Linked DNA regions of Homo sapiens: region 1 is linked to region 2. Evidence: promoter capture Hi-C in human tissues and cell types (Jung and others, 2019). All regions are on one chromosome and are shown on one strand. The core of a region is centred on a gene start or on the middle of the fragment in contact, and the rest is flanking DNA. Distances in the headings are between cores, read along the strand shown. Region 1 overlaps ANKS1B (ankyrin repeat and sterile alpha motif domain containing 1B). Region 2 holds the start of ANKS1B (ankyrin repeat and sterile alpha motif domain containing 1B).

Region 1 (5,748 bases), core at 1,436-3,935, 160 kb before region 2:
GCGTGTTCAAGTACATTTACTAATGTAACCAAATATCACCTGGACCACAATAACTTATTGAAAAATTAATGTTAAAAAATTCATTGGGACTGTGAAAAAAGAAATATTAAGTTACATTGCTAATCAATATCTGTAAAATAGCAAGCAGCAAAATAATCCCTATGTCTTAAATGTAAAGTAGCATTTTCTGATATCCAGCATTTGACAAATAACAAATACTCTAAAATCCTAAAGCAAATGTGGTTGACAAGAAAATAGAAAAAATATTTTGGAAAATGGAAATAGAAATGGAAAAATACTTTCCATTTCCCAAAAACAAAGTAAAACATCAAATTAAATTTAATAATATCCAATGTAAATAGCTGCAATATTTTGCAGCTTTAAGCTAATACATGTAAGTTCAGTTAAAAACAGGAATTCTAGAAGTATTGACTTTTGCTGCTATATTTAATTCACATCCATTTTCTGAAAGATATAAATACACATCTGATTAATAAAAAATGTATTTCGGTAAGTTCAGCATATGCTCTGAGCAAAATTAAATAAATTGGGAAGAGTCAACCTTCAAATTTCTTTGCCTCAACAGCAAGATTCCCTGTAATTAAATCACAACCAAAGATGTTTATTTCATACCATCCTCTCTTGCTTGTTGATTGAGTCCAAAGAATTTCAAAATAAATGCAAATCATCTTCATATGGATGCAGAATTAACATCTAATGAAACTCTCAAATTTAATAAGGTCCTTTTGATTTCAGATTTTCTTGACACTTTTACTTCTCTTTAATGGGAATAAAGTTGCAGATGTGTTCAAGATGGTCAAAAGATTTCAGGACAATACGTCCCATTTTCTAACTGAAGTTTCTTTACATGTTGAATTCACTCTCATAGATTTCTAGATTACAGAGTGAATAAAGGCAAATTTTAAGTAGTCTGTATCCTTATCCAGGAAAAAAAGCAAGATGACTAAAGATGTTTCTAGTTATTCAAAGAGCAACTTCAGAGACCAGATTATACAATTTTTAGAGGAGGTATGCCTCTTTTATTAGAAAACCTAAGAAAGATCAAATCATACAGATAGCTTATTATATGGATTCTAGATCCAATTTGATACGCAATCTGGATTACAGATAATGAGATCTAGCATGCATTAAATACTTTAAAAGGTAGAAGAATAGAAAATATCTTATGTGTATATAAAACAATATACATATTTCAGAAATACAATAACGATCTGCTGATATTTTTCAAAACAGCATGCAAGTGTCACAATATACCAAATATAGTTTAATAACATTAAACTTAAGAAGAAAATAAGGAACTATTTGTTAAGTAGAGAAGAAAAATTGAATTGAAATATGAGTATACAGGTTTAATATAACCTCACAGGGAAAGATAAGATTATTACTAAAAATAATGGATGAAAAGAAGAGAGGAGAAAAGTCAGAAAGAAGGAAAAGTAAAGGAAAAAGGAATGAGGGGACTAAGGAAAGCAGAGGAGAACAAGAAAAAAAGGGATGAGAAGAAGTGGGAGGCAGGGAAGGAAGGTAGAGAGGAAGGCAGGTAGTCAGGCCAGCCAATTGCTTTTCAGAGGAGAATTAAGGGATTTGAATTTGCAGTAGAAATACATGTGACAATGAATCCTCCATATTTTAAAAAGAGAAAAAGATACAAAGAAATAGCTCTCTACTCTATCTATGGAAATAATTTATAATACTTGCAGTAAATTTTGTTTTATTAACCATGATTTTTTCCTATCATTTGATGGTAATAATTTTCTAATCTGTGATTACAAATAACCCAAGAAATCACCAGTAGAGTACATTTTCCATTGTGTCCTGATCTGGCTAATTGAAGATGAATATGAAATAATGCATTTCAGGTACAAAATGCTGCTTCATTTGTGGATTAACTAGCATTGATAAACAATGGCTCCCAATGAAAATGTACAAAATTGGGGAAACTGGTTTAATTTTCAGTATGAAGGCTTTAGATTTTATGTTGGGGGTAGGGGGACAGTTTGTGTTCAAAGCAAAAGAATAAACTATATGATCCCGAAACATTACTGCTGGCTTTATGATTCTATGAACTTTAGCCTACCAATTATAATGTTTATGGAAAAAATCTAGAGCAGATGGATACAACAACAGCGACAAACATGGAAATGATGTGTTTCTGTGCAGACTGCTAAGGCTTGCTTGGGAAGAATACAATATAATCATTGTTAGTTACCTCTGCTAAGTGAGAATGCAAATAAAAGAAATAACCTTCTTCTCTGGCTCTGAGATACAGTCTATGACATTATTTTCTCCCTCAAATATCTTTTAAGCCAATATTAAAATTAGCATTCCATGTAAACATATGACAAATGATTATGGGAGGCAGGCCAGAAATATATAATGTGACAGAGAAGAGCCAGGGAGAGTTTAACAACAAAGGGGAGATAATGCAGAGTACTGGTAAAAGCATAGACTTAGAACCAGAACACTTAAGCTCTAGACACAACCCCACTTTAATATCTATGTGGCCATTAAGTCACTTAACTAAATGGGCATTGTTTCTCCATCTATAAAATGAGGGAGCTGAGGGGTGTCAGGTAGAAAAAGTGATCTCTAACTGTACAAGTTCATAGATTATTTAAACTTGCAAAATCAAGAAACATACACTCTATATGAAATTCCCAATTTCAGAACTGTAGCATCATAGTGCATAACTGAGCCATAAATAATACCAACACAGTGTATCATTCAATGTTATCATTGTAAGAAACAATGGAGAATATCAAGCCAATCTATTCAAGCTATTGAACTGAGGCCTACAGATGTTAAGTAAATGGTTCAAGGTCACACAACTAGCAGAGATGGGGAGATGGGGTTAGAATCTTCCTGCTTTTTCCAATGCCTATAGGATGACACTGAAAATTAAAAAGAAAAGATAAATGAGATCTTTCAGACAAAAGCACAGACATATAATTCCCACAGACTATCTGTAATTAAAGGGATCTTTAAAAATAGCTAATCAAATTATCTGTTTGTGAGAATCTTAATGATTGCTATTCAATTTGCTTAAATTATCTTTATTTTCTAAATCACCAAAAAAAAAAAAAATTATGCCATGGGCCATAGAAAAACATATCTCAACAGTTAGAACTTCATAGACTGTCATGTATAAATCAGCATTTACTAAATACTTCACTGAAAATGAAGGAGGGATATGAATGCTAATCCATTTTGGGACAATATTACTTTAAGAAGTGCTTACCTACCAATGCCAATCTGAGAAAGAACAAGAAAAGTAGTATGCCTCAAATGAAAGGTCAGGCCCAAGATATCCTGCCCATTAGATGTAATAGAGTTTATCTTCCCAATTAGAACTAAAAAATATGATAGTAGCCTGAATCCATAATTCAGATAGCCAAGAAGCCATCAGGATTATATTACTTGGGCTGATTTGTCTTTGTTCCTGGTGACTCAGGTAAAAAAAGAATAACAACATTCTCCTTTAAAATATTTAGATATCTGGACATACTTTCCATTCTATAAAGGAAGAGAAAAAATTAGAAGATATGGCAAAATATTTCTAAATGAGATGATATAAGACAATATAGAATAGGAACTGAATAAAAATAAATACAATTTGGGAATTCCAATTCTAAAAATCTAAATAATGAAACAAAGTTTATAATAGTTTATGTAACTCAAATGATTCTCTAAACAGGCTGATGGCATTAAATTTATACATTTTAAGAGAAAAATGTCAGTGATCAATAATGACAAAAAAAATGTCTTGCATTAAGAGCTTTATGACCACCAAACCTAAGATTAAGTATGAAGAAGACCCTTGAGTCACCATTCACAGAATAAAAGAAATGTTAGGTGAAAAAACAAAAGGTAACTACCATTTCTACTTTTTAAAAAATAATTTCAACTTTTATTTTAGATTCAGGGGACACATGTGCAACTTTTATTTTAGATTCAGGGGATATATTGTATGATGCTGAGGTTTGGGATACAATTTATCCCATCACCTTGATACTGAGGATAGTACCCAATAGTTTTTCAACCCTCCCTACCCCCTCTAGTGGTCTCCAGTTTCTATCATTGCCATCTTTATGTCCACAAGTAGCCAGTATTAAGTTCCCACTTATAAGTGAGAACATGCAGTATTTGATTTGCTGTTCTTCCATTAATTCACTTAGAATAATAGCTTCTAGCTGCATCTGTTGTTGCAAAGGACACAATTTCATTCTTTTCATAGCTGCATAGTATTCCATGGTGCATATGTACTACATTTTCTTTATCCAATCCACCACTGATTGGCACTTCAATTGATTCCATGTCTTTGCTATTGTGAATAGTGCTGCAATGAGCATGCAGGTGCTTGTGTCTTTTTGATAGAACAATTTACTTTCTTTTGGATTTATACCCTGTAATGGGAATGCTGGGTAGAATGGTAGTTCTGTTTTAAGTTCTTTGAGAAATCTCCAAACTGCTTTCCACAGAGACTGAACTAATTTTTACATTCCCACCAACAGTGAATAAGCACTCTCTTCACTCTATAAAAGATGCCAACATTTGTCATTTTTTGACTTTTTAATAATAGCCATTCTGACTGGTGTGAAATGGTTTCTCTGTGGTTTTGATTTGCATTTCTCTGACGATTAGTGATGTTGAGCATTTTTTCATACACTTGTTGGCCACTTGTATATCTTCTTTTAAGAAGTGTCTGTTCACGTCTTCTGAGTACTTTTTAATGGGATTATTTGGTTTTTGCTTGTTGAATTCTTTAAATTCCTTATAGATTCTGAATATTTGGCCTTTGGTAGATGCATAGTTTATGAATATTTTCTCCCATTCTATAGTTTGTTTATTGATAGTTTCTCTTGCTGTGCAGAAGTGCTTTAGTTTAATGAAATTAGGTCCCACTTGTCAATTTTATCTATTTATTTATTTATTTTTGAGACAGTCACCCAGGCTGGAGTGCAGTCATGAGATCTCTGCTCGCTGCAACCTCTGCCTCCAGGGTTCAAGCGATTCTCCTGCCTCAGCCTCCTGAGTAGCTGGGATTACAGGCACATATCATCGTGCCCAGCTAATTTTTGTAATTTTAGTAGAGACAGGGTTTTGCCACATTGGTCAGGCTGGTCTCAAACTTCTGGCCTCAAGCTATCCACCTGCTTCGGCCTCCCAAAGTGCTGGGATTACAGGCATGAGCCACTGCACCTGGCCTCAATGTTTCTTTCTGTTGCAATTGCTTTTGAAGTCTCTATCGTGAAGTATTTGCCCAGTTCTATGTCCAGAATGGTGTTTCCAAGGTTTTCCTCTAAGATTCTTATAGTTTGAGATCTTACATTTAAATCTTCAATCTACCTTGAGATAATTTTTGTATATGGTGAAAGGTTAAGGTCCAGTTCCAGTCTTCTGCATATGGTTATCCAGCTATCCTAGCACTATTTATTGAAGAGGGAGTCCTTTCTCCATTGCTTATTTGTTATCAATTTTGTTGAATACCAGATGGCTATAGGTGTATGGCTTTATTTCTGGGTTCTCTAACCTGTTTATTGGTCTATGTGTCTGTTTTTGTACCAGTACCATGCTGTTTTAGTTAATACTGTAGCCTTATGGAATAGTTTGAAATCTGCTATCATGATGCCTCTGGCTTTGCTCTTTTTGCTTAGGATTGCTTTGGCTATTTGAGCTCTTTTTTTAAATTCAAAATGAATTTTAGAATAGTTTTTTCCTAGTTCTGTG
Region 2 (5,627 bases), core at 3,010-5,509:
CATCTATGCTGTCTTGCCATATAAAAGGTTAACAGAGATGATAGCTCTTCCATGAAAAATACTTATAAGAAAACAAAAATACATGCATCTAAAGAACTATCCTGCAGATGAATTAGACTGCTTTATATTGACCCATACAGCCAATCTACTACCAATTGCTGAAAGTCACAGGGAAGTGGATTTTAGCTCAATGAAAAGAAAAATTTTAAAATAATTACAGCTGTCAAAAATAGAATGAATCTAGTCATTGGAAGGTTTAACAGGGCTGGAATAACTAACAGGTAAGAAATGTTACAGAGAAAATTTCCGCACTAGGTGAGAAGTTGGAAGAAAGTTCCCTCCTTATTTGACGATTCTATGATTGCTATGGGAAATTTACTCCCAGTCCAATAGGAAGCAAATCTTTAGTCATTAAGGCCTTAAAGAATACAGTCAAGTGCTTTAGAGGTGCATGAAAAATATTAACACTAACGATGAACACCTATATGCTAAATGTTTTGCATTCATTACTTTATACTTCATTTAATCCTTATAATGATCTTATATGATAGGTACTATTATTACTATTTCCACTCTGATAGAATAGTGAGGCTTAGAGAGGTTTTTAAATTTATTCAATGGCATTCTTACATTTGCTGAAAATTGCAGTGCCACCCAAAAGCATACCTGATTCCCCATTACATAGTTACTGTTGAAAGGATAATTTCTTATTACCAGTAGATAACAAGTAATCAGAAGCATCTTCAGAAAAGTTCTTGTCTAGTGAACCCTCAAAGGGCAGTTGTGAGATTTTTTTAATTAGAAAAAAATACCAAAATTTAAGGAATTTCAAATTATTCTTCATAGCAAAAAATGTTCAGATTGGCCTGTCTAAATTGGCCACATACCTTTAAACTTTTGTGAATAAAACAGATTCAATGAATGAGACTTAAAATGTTGTAAAACAAATCTGAATCACAGATTTTCAAATCTTTGCCATTATTAATTAAGTGACCATGGGCAAGTCCTTAATCTTATCTTTTTATTCCTTCATCTGTGAAATGACAATGGACCTCCTAAGGCTGACACAAGAATTGAATGAGATGACACGTGTAAGCACTTAGCATAGGGTCTGACACCATTATTACACAACCCAGGTAATAAAGCAAGCGGGGAAAAAGTGCCAAACATATTCTACAGTTCCTTCTAAAACATTAAGAAATTTCAAAGTGTCATTATGTTTGACGGGGGACACATTTTCCATTATCCTGCCAATAAATTTCTGATGACAATCATTTTTGAAATAAAGTGACAACTAAATAAAATGTGCCTTCTTAGGAATGTCATTTTATGCAAATGATTGCCCAAAGAATACAATTTCAACTCTCATTTTCTTCAGACACTATTCAGTATAAGATGGATAAAAGCAAGTTTAAAGGTTATTGGTTTTGTTTGTGATTTTTACAACTTGGTTCGAAGTACTCTAATAAACACATGTTGTTTACTTTTGTTTTCTATGTGCAATCTTTGTTGTAGAGCTACTACTACTACTACTACACCAGCAAAAGAGAAAACCTCTCACTCAAGATATACACTGTGGGTCACTATTTTGATACTTTAGTGTCCACTAACATTAAATACTTGGTGTTTTATCCCTAAAACTTGACATCTATTCTTTAAAAAAAAAAAAAAAAATCACAGCTGGGAAAGGAGTATTTAAAGGATGTTTGCTTTTGAGTTTTGTCACAAGGAGTGTTTTTAAAATACGATTTATCACAATAAAATTAAGTGAAATTCTCACTGTTCTCAAATAATTCCTCATGTTTTCCCGAAGAAATTGTTTATTTTGAGAAAATTCTTTCAGCATACCAGTTTTTAGACATAATCATTTTTATAACTGATGGATCCACAGCAAACGTTGTTATTTTACGTGTAACTTAAAACTGTAAAGAGATAAATTGCTTTCACATAAACTACATGTGACTACAGGCAATTATTAGAGCTGCAATCTGAAATATGCACACATTGTCTACCTGTGTTTGAAAGAGAAGATTATTTAACAAGGGAGTACACACAAGTCATCTCTATGACCTATTGAAAAAATGTCCCATAAATATTCATTCTTCTGACATGAACTATCATTCCAATAAAATGTCACTGTCAACGAGTATATAGAATAACATATGGGGCTTTTTAAAATCCCATCGACTATTTTTCAACTCAATTTATTTCACTGTAATAGAAACTTTCCATTTTCCCTTTTAGCTAGCCCTATAATTAATTGCACTGTCTGACCACCACAACCTATGAGAACTTGTGTAAAGAACGCAATGTCATCACCCAAAAGTTTCTATTAAGCACTTGTCAAGGGTAGCATGGAACAGTTTTTAAAAAACCAGGGAAATCACTTGGGCTTTCTAAAATTTTTACAACTATAGTTGGGTTATCCAAGAGATGTTTTAAGGCGAAGATATGAATGACAATTGATGACTCCAAAAATACCCAGGATAAATTGGATAGCCACGATTTTAGAAACTAAAGAGCTTCCCTTGAATTGTATCTAGTGAATACTCTCCAGGCTTCCTCCCTCCCAGTTGATTTCATTTGTCCATCAATACAACTTTTAATAGTTTCTCAAGTATGGAAATCAACCCCGCTATTTCCAAGGTACTGCTGAATGAAGACCTTGACATTTTTTTTAAATGTCATCTTAGAAAGATTCTCCAAGCAATACCAGTCTCACCTACGACATCTTCACGTTAAAAGGCCTCTACCGTACTCCATATACAGTATCCCAATACCAACCTGGCATCCTTCATCCTGAGCTATAACAACCAAGTTTCACTCAGCTATGTCCAGGTAACTGAAAGTATTGCTGGGGCTGCCTAACCTGCCCCATCAAGTTTTATACACACCCTGTGCTGAAGACATCTCACCAGAAAGAAGGTTCACTCACTTCATTTTGTGGGATCATAACCCACGGCACAGCAAACGCCTTCTGCAAGAGAAGGTAGGAGCCACCGAAGGCTGTGGCTTTTGCAGGGTAATTGCATGCACGCAAGAGATTCTCTGCCAATTTCATTTAACTAGACAAAAAAGGCTGCGTTCAAAGCTGCAAATATGTAATAAATGTTGATGGAAAGCGGGCGGAACGTCGATTTTCTTCAAGCAACACTAGTACATGTACAAGTTCTGCACCAGGGCTCAGAGGAAAAGTAGCTTACTGACGCATTGATGGAAGGCTATTTTAAAATTACTCAAAGAATCTAAGGCATCAATCTGACTGGGAGGCTCATACCTCCTCTCCATACACGCAGTCTGTTTTCCTACCTAATTTAAGAATGAATCGCTGGCAGCCACCAGGTGCAATAACCGTGAGGAGGAGGACGTATATCCATCACAATGCATAATGAGGTGTGCCAACCCCGGAGCTGGTGCCCGTCCTTACCTTAGCAGATTAGACAGGGGCAGGGGTCCGGATCCACCGCCCAGGATCCCTCCTTTCCTGCCAGACAGGAGTTTCTCCACCAGAGCCACATTTCCAGTGCGAGCAGCTTCCAGCAGCTCCTGGTCCTTCCCCATAGTCTCTCACCGACTCCCCCACAGAGTCCTTGCCCCCCTCGGGTCCTCCTCCCCACCCACCCCCACTCCCCAAAATCCAGGGCCCTCTTCGCCCCACCCTAAAATAATGCAAGAGCTTCAGCACGGAGAGCTCCCTGCAGCCCCAGGCAGGGAGCACGACTCTCTCCTCCTCTTCGGGGCGCAGCTTTTACAATGGGGATCAGACCATGTCTTGAAAGAGGGGCTGGCCGAGCTGGGAGCCGCGACGCGCCCCCACAGCCACTCCCCTGAATTCCCAAGGCCTCGTTCCCGCGGGTGCGGCGTGAGGGGGTGGGGACTCGGGGGTGCTTTTGAGGAGCGGGAGGAGGGTGGTGAGGACTGAGGTCGGAGGAGGAGGAGGAGGCGGCAGAGAGAGTCCTAGCTGGAGCGGGAGCGCAGGGAACACCCGCGGTGGCAGCAGCGGCCCGCGCGCCCTCGCGCCCGACCCGGGCTCGCCTCGGCTTCCTCGGCGGTTACGCGGGGGCGGCGTCCGCGGCGGGGAGGAGCGCGGCGGCGGCGGCGGCGGCTCGTGCGCTGTGGCCCGCGCCGAGGCAGGGCGGTGGGGGGCAGCCGCAGCGGGCGCGTGCCGAGGGCGGCGGCGGCGGCGAGGCCTGGCGCGCGGGGGGCGTGTGCGCGCGGGCAGGTGCGGCCCCTGGTGCGGCCCGAGTTGGGTGGCGGGCTGGCGGGGAGGGGCCGGGCCGGCTGAGGCGGGGCTTCGGCCCTGAGATTCTCTTCGTTCTCGTGGGCGGGGACCCTCCCTCCTCCACTCTCCTTGGAAGAGCGTTAACCGTGTGAGGACTGGAGTTCCCCGGGCCGCGTCGGCTCCTCCTCGGCCCGGCGGGCCCCGGCAACACGCCTCGGGTCTGTCACGACGCCTGAGGAAAATCCTCCGTGACAGGAATGGGGAGGCTGGTGACACTGGGGAGGGGCCCTTTGGCCACCGCTTCCATCAGAGTCTAGGCAACTTGACCGGCATTTCACCCTTCCGCTTTACCTCCCCAAGAGAGCCTGAGATCTGCCCTTGGTTAGAAAGAAGAGGCTCGTTTCGTCCTAGTTTCTGTGGCACTGGCCACCGAGCAGTTTGCGACTGTTTCAGTTTTTCTGGAGTCTTTAATCAGCCCATATTTTAGTTGGGCTTTGGAGATCTGCTGACTTGTAAGAATACCAGGAAAAAGGCTCTCATTGAAAATTTATCCACATCTACACTCGAAAAATATAAATGGGCATGGATTAGAGATCCACTTTAATTTGCATATATCATCAGCAATTCATTGTGCATGGTTGGCATGACTTGTTAGATGCTCTCCTTGGCCGTGGTGGAGAACGCGCGTTTATTTTCTATTAAAACTTCCTGTTACACCTTGTGCTTTGCATTGTCCTTGGAATAGACTTCATAAATGTTCACTTGTTGATAATTGATTGGTAAGAAGAGGACTTAATAGGCACTGTGCTTACAACAACCCAGTGAACTGGATATTATTATATCCATTTTAGAAATGAGGAAATAGGGCTCAAATGGTTAATTAAATTTCTCAAGATGCCACATGGAGTAAGTGGCTGACTCAGAACTAGACCCCAGAACAGACTCACTCCAGACACCATGTGCTTCCCAATATACGTTCCTGCCCCCCATGGAAAAGCGAAATGGACAGACAATAATTATTGCATGCATTTGATGAGTAGTTGCTACATACCAGACACTATGCTAAGTGCTTTCCATGTTCTCATTAAGCCTTGCAACAATCGCATGAGATAGGACCATTTTCATCTCTATTTTGGAGATGAAGAAACTGATTACCCGCAAGATAATAGGGATAGAAAGTAACTGAGCCAAGGCTCAAATCCGGCACTGTCTGCTGTAGGCAAAGATTTTCAATAAATAACTGGGGGAAACTTAAAAGGCATTTAGAGATAAATAACAAGAGTATATTAAAACATTTTTATGGAATTCATTGTGTTCTGAGATTTCATTTCAATGATTCAAAATATTAGGTAAATTATGGCTATTTATTGGAGGTTTCCTGAAGTATGTAGATTTTGGCTAGTGT

What was found. The method cuts DNA at HindIII sites, captures the fragments that hold promoters and counts their contacts. A contact is called where the count stands out against the background at its distance.
Region 1: a fragment that was not itself captured here is called in contact with the fragment with the promoter of ANKS1B in region 2 in 1 of the 25 tissues and cell types used here (dorsolateral prefrontal cortex).

What each region holds. Positions count from the first base shown.
Region 1 is chr12:99,818,380-99,824,127 of GRCh38, forward strand. All of the region lies in intron 2 of ANKS1B (ankyrin repeat and sterile alpha motif domain containing 1B), which reads right to left. Among named protein-coding and RNA genes, the nearest start is that of ANKS1B, 160 kb to the right of the region's middle. The HindIII fragment of the contact is 7,470 bases long and covers 1-5,748 here.
Region 2 is chr12:99,980,677-99,986,303 of GRCh38, forward strand. It overlaps ANKS1B (ankyrin repeat and sterile alpha motif domain containing 1B), which reads right to left and starts at 4,260. Exons shown (of 27, transcript NM_001352186.2): 1 at 3,428-4,260. The coding sequence starts at 3,561. RefSeq lists an enhancer at 3,290-4,120 and a silencer at 4,233-4,282. The HindIII fragment of the contact is 20,528 bases long and covers 1-5,627 here.